Regions from separate parts of the Homo sapiens genome. Here all the other regions are linked to region 2. Evidence: promoter capture Hi-C in human tissues and cell types (Jung and others, 2019). All regions are on one chromosome and are shown on one strand. Each heading gives the region's core, a stretch centred on a gene start or on the middle of the fragment in contact. The rest is flanking DNA. Distances are from core to core; before and after follow the strand shown.

Region 1 (3,065 bases), core at 496-2,995, 560 kb after region 2:
AATTCAAAATTTCTGATAAGAGTGTCTCCAGAAAAGATGTAATAAGGAAATTTGGTTAGTAAATGAGTACCAAAAAGCATATGAATATGTTGGAGAATACCCTCGTTCTTAGGAGATTCATGCTGAAGTGTTAAAAGATATAAGTGTTAGGATATCTTTGCAGAAAAAAGTGTGTGTGTATGTTGAGAGAGAGAGAGAGCGCGCATGTGTGCAGATATGGTAAGATGTTAACAAATGTTGAGTCTAAGGGAAGTGTGCGTTTATTACTTAATTTTTCTGTACTTTTGAAGCTAAGCAAAATTTGCAGTATAAATGTGGGGCTACAAGAGACATTAATTGAGGTACACCGACTTCGTGTCATGCCAACACAGTTTTTCTCCATTGGTACATTTTAGGCAAAATGCTATTCCATCAAATTGCATTGAAAGTGTTTATTTACAAAACCCAGGTTGAGCCACGTCTGCACTTTCTGAGCATATCGTGATGATCATTGGTCATTACTGGAGAGGTTTAGTAGAGCTGATGGACTTATGTAATACCGATTTGGAGCCACTAACTTAAAGTGTGTAATTTTAGGACTTTCTTAAATAGGACAAATGCTTCACATGGTTTTATGCCTCAGTGGGTGTCTCAAATATAAAGATTCTTATCCTATTGGTAGATATTTTGGTGGTTAACTTTGTTGGAAAATGCATAAGGAATTATTACATTTTATTTTTGGATACATGCTTGCATTCATTTGTATCCTATCCATAATATGGGACTGAATACAGAAAAAATCATACAGAATTTCTTGGCAGACTCCACTAGATGATTGTGCAGATCATTATTTTAAATAAGTGGACTTTAATGCATAGTTAACTGATACTTTATTCTAGGAGATTGTGATGAATTATATCTTAAAGCAATATGTAAAAGCTTAAGTGGTCGAAAGAGAAATAAATATAGCTATTTAATTAATTGTCTGCCGGACAATTGTAATGCCTCTGTCTGGTGGGTGGACAAATTGAAACAACTGATTATGCAGCATTAGTAAGTGTCTAATTGGATATGTGGGGTAGCATATTAATATAGTGGCACTTTTAGAGAGGGTGTCACTGGAAATTTGTTTTTCAAATGACCAGTCCTTATTTGTATGCTTTGAGTCCTCTAATATGTGGTTGTTTCTTAATTGTATATTTCCTTGCTTTGTATCTTTCCTTGAAAGAGGTATCTTTTATATTTATTCTGTTACCCATAGAAAATGCATAAAAAATTGAAATCCTTGGCATAAAACTTGAAGGTGCAGACTAGGTTTGATCCAGTGCTTTTCAAAGTAAGTATAAATAAATGAGGTTTCTGGTAGTCATCTTGGGAAATTATGAAAACCATCATATGCCTTCTCATGACACATCTTTTTTCTCTGTTGAAGACGCATCCTATTACACACCTTGTGAAAATGGTGTCACCTCCCTAATTGTACTCTGTAAACAAAACATCCCTTAGTTCCTGATTGTCCTGGCTTACTGTGGAGTGACAGGCTGCAATTTGCCAGTAGGTCAACCACTGAACTGATGACAAGTGACCTTTCTAACACTGCAATCAATGCTTGTTATTTGGAAAACAAAATGATACAGTTTGTATTTTTTAGCAGATGGGTCATTGGGTCAACCCACCACTGACATGTGAATTTGTTACTTGGGCTGGATGAGTCAGTTCAGACAGAAATGTTAATTTATTTGAATTGATCTGAGTCTTGCTCTTATAAAAAGGTGTTGGACATTTGTTGATGGCACAAATTATTACAAATAATTGGTTTTATACATCAGTCAAACAAAGACTTTTAGAGGGCCCACTTGATACAATAGCATTATATACTAGCTTTGGGAAGCATTCACCATAATGTATTTTCTCCACACTTGATATTTCTCAATGGTTTTGAGAAAACCCAATTTACATAAGTGATCTTGCATGTGTCATATTTAAATAGTATCTCTCCCCATGTTGCCTGAAATGTGTTTGGTGTTAGACCCCATGAAGAGTCAGGAGGATGATTAAGTTCTGGAAAAAATGCTGGGAAGAGATGAACTGTCATAAGAGATAGCCCCTGTGGTTGTCAGCGTTGTTGAATGACTGCTTCCAGCTTTCACCTGCTAGAAACATGGGAACATTGGGCATCTCTGTTGCATTTGACTTAGATGTTACTGCACATGCTTTGGCTGGTGAGTGTGAGTGAAAGTGACATGTGCTATTTTCAGGCAGAAGCTGCTAGAACCAGGATGAGAGTCAAGGTGTTCTCTCCCCTTCTTCCTGTCATGGTGACTGTGGCAGCATTGAGACGCTTTTAGCCCAGATGCCTGAGTGAGGAAGATGTAGAAATGCCTTCCCTTGCCCCTCACACATTCACACACACTCAGATGACTGCAGTGGGTGTGTGCCTGAATGAGAAATAAGCTGTGTTGTATATGCCACTGAGATTTTGGAGTTGTTGAATGGTTCTCTAACTCTTTGGTCTTAGGACTCCTTTATACTCTGTAAATGTTTTGAAAAATCCGCAGAGCTTTTGTTCAAGTGGGTAATATCTACTTCTATTTTCTGAATTAGAAATTAAAACTGAGAAAGTTTGAAAACACAAGAGTCCATAAACATCTCTTCCATTGGGCATGAGAGCAGTGGTGTAGACCTGTGAGAGTTGAGCGTGAACTGAGAATAATAAAGTCAAATAATGTCTTCTTATGATCATGAAAATAGTTTTGACCTTGTGGCCTCCCTGAAAGGGTCTCAGGGATTTCAGGGGTCTCTGGCAGATACTTTGAAAACGACTGACCTAGGCCATGCTAAGTGATGAGCATACCTCGATAAGTTACAGTTACAGGCTCAGAGAAGTTGAGAAGGAAAAGAAAGAAGGGAAAAAGATTTTGGAAGCATTGCAAAAGACTATCCCTGAGTGTTAGGGTTTTCTTTTTCTTTTTGAATAAAGTCAATATAAATAATTCATTCCTGTTTTTGAGAAGTAGTCCCTCTTTATACTAATAAATGCCTATTTTACTAGGCTATCAAATGAAATAATGCACATAAAATTATAT
Region 2 (3,308 bases), core at 499-2,998:
CAGGGTCCCAGGAGCAGCAGGGGTCTCCAGGATATATAGCAGCAAAAATCTCACCCTTCCAGGCCAAACCAGCCCTTGCCACGGGCCACAAGCCCTTTGCTCAGAACCTAGGTCAGCTCCTTGATATCCCTTGTCCCCTTAATCACTACCTATTTTTAGGATTTTTCACCTATGCAGATGTGTGTCCGCCTCCTCCCCAACTATATTAGTTTGCCAGACCTGCTCTAAGAAACTGGGTGGCTTAACCAACAGAAATGTATTTTTCTCACAATTCTGGAGACTGGAAGCCTGAGATCAAGGTGTTGGTTTCTTCTGAGGCCTCTCTCCTTGGCTCGCAGGTGGCTGCCTTCTCCCTGTGTCTTCACTTGGCCTGATTGCCAAACCCAGCGCCTTCTGAGATACTGGGGGTTACAATTTCAGCATACGAAATTTGAGGGCAGGGTGAGGGGACACAGTTCAGCCCATAACACCAACAATTAACTCTGCAAACTTAAGATGTAAGTTAACTTTTTTAATTCAAGAAAAAGACAGGGAGGCCGAGGCAGGTCCACCCGCCTTGATCAGGAGGTCAAGACCATCCTGGCAAACATGGTGAAACCCCGTCTCTACTAAAAATACAAAAATTAGCTGGATATGGTGGTGGGTGCCTGTAATCCCAGCTGCTTGGGAGGCTGAAGCAGGAGAATCACTTGAACCCGGGAGGCAGAGGTTCCAGTGAGCCGAGATCGTGCCACTGCACTCCAGCTTGGACGACAAGAGCAAAAACTCCATCAAAAATAAAAGAAAAATAAATAAATAAATAAATAAAAATAAATAAAAGACAGGGAGGAGAAGAGAGAGAGAGAGAAAGAGAACGGTGTGTAGCGAGGGGGGCCTCATCATATCCTTCCAGGACAATAGGTGGCCCGCGCTTACCATACTAAGGTGGCCACTCAAGTGACTGTTCAAACACTTAAAGTGCATCCTACTAAATACAGAAGGTCTCTGTAAGACACATGAGCCCAGAGCTTCTCTGGATGAAATGGGAGTGAGGGGTTGAGATCCCCCCACAACTCCCTTCTCACTAAATCACCTCTGACAAGCACAGGATAAAAACCTTTGACCTGGAAGATTCCAGGTATCCGGGCTGCTTTTGTTATCTTTTCACAAACGCACAGTTCATCAAGGTTTGGAACAGGGACCTATGATATCATCTGATGATCTTTAGCTTTGGAGACATAACTGTCACTAGCACCCAGCCCAGTTTCACTGTAAAGTTGTCTGGCTGAGCTCCCGCAATCCTGCCAACAGTCCGTACTTGTGTGGCCTGCTCTGTTTTTCCATTTTACTTCTTTTTAGAGATGGGCTTGTTAATCACCCTGCTCAACTGTGATACCCAAGAAAAGCTGAGAGAGTAAAGTTATATGCAGCCTTCCTGTGACCTGTTTGCATGTACCCAGTCAATAAAACTCAGGCAGAGTGACAGTGACAGCTGCCTTGTGGCATTCAGAGGGATTTGAGCAGTTTAGCAGCCTCCTGGACAAGTATATCATTACAGCCCAGCTGCTAAGAAAGAAAACACCTAAACCCTGGGGAACAGGCACAGCTCCTGCAGCCACCCAGGGACCTGTCTCAGATACCTGCAAGGCCTGATCAAGACTCTCCTGGCAGCTTTCTCCACACTAGGACCTCCTAGTCACAAGTTGGTTCTCACCCTGACGCACACTCCCTGCCTGCAACAGCCTGGCTTTTAGCAGCTGAGAGGACACGGTCCCTGCCTGGGAGGTGGCAGAGGAGAGTGACTAGAAGGGAAGGTACAATGGGGGCCAGGCAGTCAAGGGCCAGCTCCAAGGATAAGGGCCCCAAGAGGATGCTGTTCACGGGGAGGAGACAGAAGTTTTCTCCGTGGGACGATGCCCTGCTCTCGGGAAGGGACCCGCGGTCCCTGCTGAAGCGGGGCATGCACCACGTCAGCTTCAGCCTGGTCACGAGAGGAATGACAGACATCCCCGACTTTCTGTGGGGCTTGTCCGAGGTCCAGAAACTCAATCTGTCTCACAACCAGCTCCGGGTTCTCCCTCCCGAGGTGGGGAAACTGACCCGGATCGTGGTCCTGAACTTGTGCGGGAACCGCCTGAAGAGCCTGCCCAGAGAAGTGAGCCTCCTACAGTGCCTCAAGGTCCTGTTTGTCAACATGAACTGCCTGACAGAGGTGCCGGCCGAGCTGAGCTTGTGCCGAAAGCTGGAGGTCCTGAGCTTGTCGCACAACTGCCTGTCCCAGCTCCCTGCATGCTTCGCCGACCTCTCTAGACTGAGGAAGCTAAACCTCAGCAACAACTTCTTCGCGCACATCCCCATGTGTGTGTTCTCCCTGAAGGAACTGATTTTCTTGCACGTGGGCTCGAATCGCCTGGAAAACATCGCTGAGAGCATCCAGCACCTGGCCAGCCTGCAGATCTTCATCGCAGAGGGCAACAACATCCACTCCTTCCCGAGGTCGCTTTGCCTGGTCACCAGCCTGGAGCTGCTGAACCTCAACAACAATGACATCCAGACCCTCCCGAGCGAACTCCACCTGCTGTGTAGACTGGTGAGGATCGCCTGGAATCCCATGGACAAAGGGCTCCACATTTCCCACAACCCTTTATCCAAGCCTCTGCCGGAGCTGGTGGAGGGGGGCCTGGAGATGCTCTTCGGCTACCTGAAGGACAAAAAACACACCTGACCTGGGTCCCGGAGGCCTGGATGGGAGGCAGCTCATCTGGACTCTGTCAACCGGGGTACTTCTCTCGTCTCAGCTTTCTACTCTCATCCTTAGTGTCTGACAATACCTTTGTTAATATTTGCTAAGTCGCTGTTGAACATCCACGTTAAGGAGGTGATTGTTTTTAACTCTGTATGTTCTTAATAACCTCTGGAATATCATGTTCATCTCATCCTAAACATAAATTGAAACAGGGGGTTGGTTTTCCCCAAAGAGAACTAACAGTTCTGATTCTTCTGAGGAGCAGTGAGATTCAGCCCTTGGGAGAGTGGACACCTAACAGGTCTGAATTCAATGTAATTCAAAAGGCAAATATTTGCTAAGTACTGTGTGCCAAGTACAGTATGAGGTGCTGAAACCTGGTTTCAGATAGTTTCTGCCCTTGAATCAGCAACCTGTGGCCAGGTGGCAACGGCAAGACACGTTCCTCCATCAGCCTCTGTGAAACATTACTTGGGACCAAAAGGCAAACCACAGTGGGCTCTGTCCCCAGTGACCAAAAGAGGCAGAGTTTTCGCCTTGAGTTCTGGGGGACAATCATAGGAAATTTTTCTTTCATGCGGCT
Region 3 (2,983 bases), core at 471-2,970, 850 kb after region 2:
GAGTTATGGCAGTTCACAGCCTTACATCATTCTTCTGGTTTTCTTCCTTGCTTTCTCCTTTTCACTCCTCTGACTCCATTCTCAGCCTTCCAGCACTAGCCTTGCCTCTCTGACCTTGTCTTCGTTCTGGCTCAAGTCCTTCTCGTACGTTACCCTCCACCTCAGTCATTTAATTTTGTCAATCATCTTCCTACAACCTGGGTCTGATCATTACACCTTTACTCAGTAGCTATCAAAATCTCTTATTTTGTCGAGTTGTCAATTTAATACTGCCCTCTGAAAGAATACTTGTAAGTGCAGAAGTATTCAAAATAAAATATCCTTGCTTCCGAATTTTACTTTTCAAATGTAACTACTATTAACAGCTAGATACACATCCTTCTAAAATTTTACAAGGTAGAAACTGTAGTGCAAATTCATTAATGAATATAAAATGGATGCAGTTTAATAAATATTATCAAACCCAGCATTTTATTACAAGAATAAAATACCATATGAGACTCCCACCTCACATCATACAAAAATAAACACCAGATTCATGATCTAAACACAAAAGTTTAGAAGAACCTTCTAAGAAAAAGGTAGGAAGACATTTTTGTTATATATTTTTCTAAGCTTGATATAAAACTCAGCAGTCATTAAAAATAAAGATTGACAGATTTGGTTATATAAAATTTTAAACTTCTGAATGATGAAAGATACCATGAAGGAGGTCTGAGTACAAACAGAAGACTTGGAGAGATTATTTTCAGCACTTACAGCAGTCAACAGGCTGGTGGCTATAATATATAGAGACCTGCTACGTAGTAATAAGAAAAAAACAAAACACTCTTTTAGGAAATAAAATGGACAAAGACACTTCAAAAAAAAATTCACCCAGCATGTAAGTATATGGTAAAGTACCTACCCAGCCTTACTAATGATTGAGAAATGGAGTATTACAAGTGATACAGAAGTTTAAATTTCTATAATATCAAGTGTTAATCAGTGATGTGGAGAAATGTGTACATGCATAGTCTGTTGATGGGAACACACATTTTGCAGTCTTTTTTTTTGTAGGCAATTAGGGAGATTCTATCAAAATGTAAACATAGTATGCCAAACCTATTTCTAGAAGTTTATTAGTAATACTCCCCAATGTACAAGGATATTTGCCCAAGTATTTTCATTGTATCCTACTAACTTTACATATCTCTAGTGAGTAAATACCAGACTCCTGGTCATGAGACTAACACATGGATTGTTTTAAAAGCTTTAGTATGTCTGAGATATTGGAAAAAGACAAAAGTAGAAAAGGTACTGTTCCTTTTCTGTTGAAGTAACTACCCCATCAGCAACCAACTATAGAAAGAATGAAATGAGTTCCAAACTTAGGGACTCAATACATGAGTGTGTGACTAGAGTATCAAGTGCAGTTTTGGTTGGGCACTTTAATCAAGTAGAATGGTCTAGATTTGCCAGCTGATTGGGACATTCAAGAGTCTAGAGTTGAAGACACCTTAATATCCTTAGCCTGGATAACTGGGCTGTTAGTCACCATCAGCTGAGATAGGTGGTTATGTAGAGGGAATGAGAATTTAGGGGCCATGTTAAGAAGTTTGTTTTCAATACTCAAGGGCTTCTGTGATCCAACCCAAATCTATATTTATAACGCCATCTCCTACTATTTTTCTTCTGGAACTCAATGAGCCATGTATATGAAATTGTCTCTTCGCCAAGAGCCTTCTGAGCCATCACACACCCTGCTTTTGCTTAGATTCATTCTGCCTGTGCCATCCCATCGCTCTCCTCCTATAGCAGCTCTGCCTATCTTTCAGTATTTTATTCAAGTACTTTACTTTTCCTTGAAATATCCTAGGTCCTTTCCTCCCCTAAAATCAGATTTAATTATTCATTCCTTTGTTTTCTCAGAATAATTGCTTAAACCTCAATTAGAGGATGGTGTTTTATGCTGGCTGGAATTACCATCAACTCACAGTCTAGAAGATTTTGATTCCCCTCTTCTATAACATGCAAGTCAAAGATTGCATGTTATTCTATCTTGGTTTCCCATGAATCTCTCAGTTTAGAATTTGAGGCTTTAAGTAGAGAAAGGGAAGACAATTTTGGAAGATTTCAGGCACTTACCTGCAAATCAGAAATCATCCAATAGAAGCAACAGTTTACTCCATCTCACCCAAATCTAACCCTCACACATGATGTTGAGATCTCAGTTTGCTTTTGACATGGCACCTCCCATAAAATTACTTACATCCAACACTGCTGCAGCAACGTTTTTTACAGAGGCTTCATTACAGTTTCCTGGACCTTCAGCCAGGGACAGAGTACAAGTACAGAAGCTTCCAGACTTCCTTCTTGTAGTTTGCTGCTGTACTGAAGTACTTAACAGGCACTTAATAAGCATGTATTGAATGAACAAGTGGAAAAGTAAAGCTGAAACCATATGGACATTTGAGTTTGAGCATGGGAGTATATTTTGGTGCCCTTTAGAGCAGCTGCTGAGGTTGGTGAATGTCTACCATCAGCTCTGTGGCAGGCAGTGGGGTTGTAGAGTTAGAGTGCCCCTGCTGCCGAGAAGCTTTTCTCATTCTGATATTCAGACTCCAGGGCTCTGTGGATGGGTCTGAGATGGGGAAACCCATCACCTTTGTGACATTTGGTGGACATATACATGCCCAACATATTTGTTTGTTAGGCGTGAGGGAGAGGATCTGTAATTTTTAGGAGTGCATGAATTAGTGTATACATGTGTTTTTTAGAAGTAGGAAAGAGAAGGTGTCTAATTTTTACCAAATTGTCAAAGGGCTATGACTGGAAGCCAGCTAAGAACCCCAGTGTTATTTTGCAGCCACAAGGCTTTCAGCAAGTCCAAGCCCATCAGCCCTGCTGGAACAACAAGTCCCTTAGTAAAGCGTTTGCTTGATAGTCTCTGTGGGTGGAGCAAAGATCCCACTTGTCTTGAGTGTTTACATGAGCGGATGCA

The links. The method cuts DNA at HindIII sites, captures the fragments that hold promoters and counts their contacts. A contact is called where the count stands out against the background at its distance.
Region 1: a fragment that was not itself captured here is called in contact with the fragment with the promoter of LRRC30 in region 2 in 1 of the 25 tissues and cell types used here (H1 embryonic stem cells).
Region 3: a fragment that was not itself captured here is called in contact with the fragment with the promoter of LRRC30 in region 2 in 2 of the 25 tissues and cell types used here (dorsolateral prefrontal cortex and lymphoblastoid cells).

Annotation. Positions count from the first base shown.
Region 1 is chr18:7,785,257-7,788,321 of GRCh38, forward strand. The region is part of intron 2 of PTPRM (protein tyrosine phosphatase receptor type M); the gene reads left to right. Among named protein-coding and RNA genes, the nearest start is that of PTPRM, 220 kb to the left of the region's middle. The HindIII fragment of the contact is 4,887 bases long and covers 1-3,065 here.
Region 2 is chr18:7,229,341-7,232,648 of GRCh38, forward strand. LRRC30 (leucine rich repeat containing 30) reads left to right here and starts at 1,749. Exons shown (of 1, transcript NM_001105581.3): 1 at 1,749-2,704. The coding sequence starts at 1,799. The coding sequence ends at 2,704. The HindIII fragment of the contact is 10,232 bases long and covers 1-3,308 here.
Region 3 is chr18:8,079,120-8,082,102 of GRCh38, forward strand. All of the region lies in intron 9 of PTPRM (protein tyrosine phosphatase receptor type M), which reads left to right. Among named protein-coding and RNA genes, the nearest start is that of PTPRM, 510 kb to the left of the region's middle. The HindIII fragment of the contact is 3,817 bases long and covers 1-2,983 here.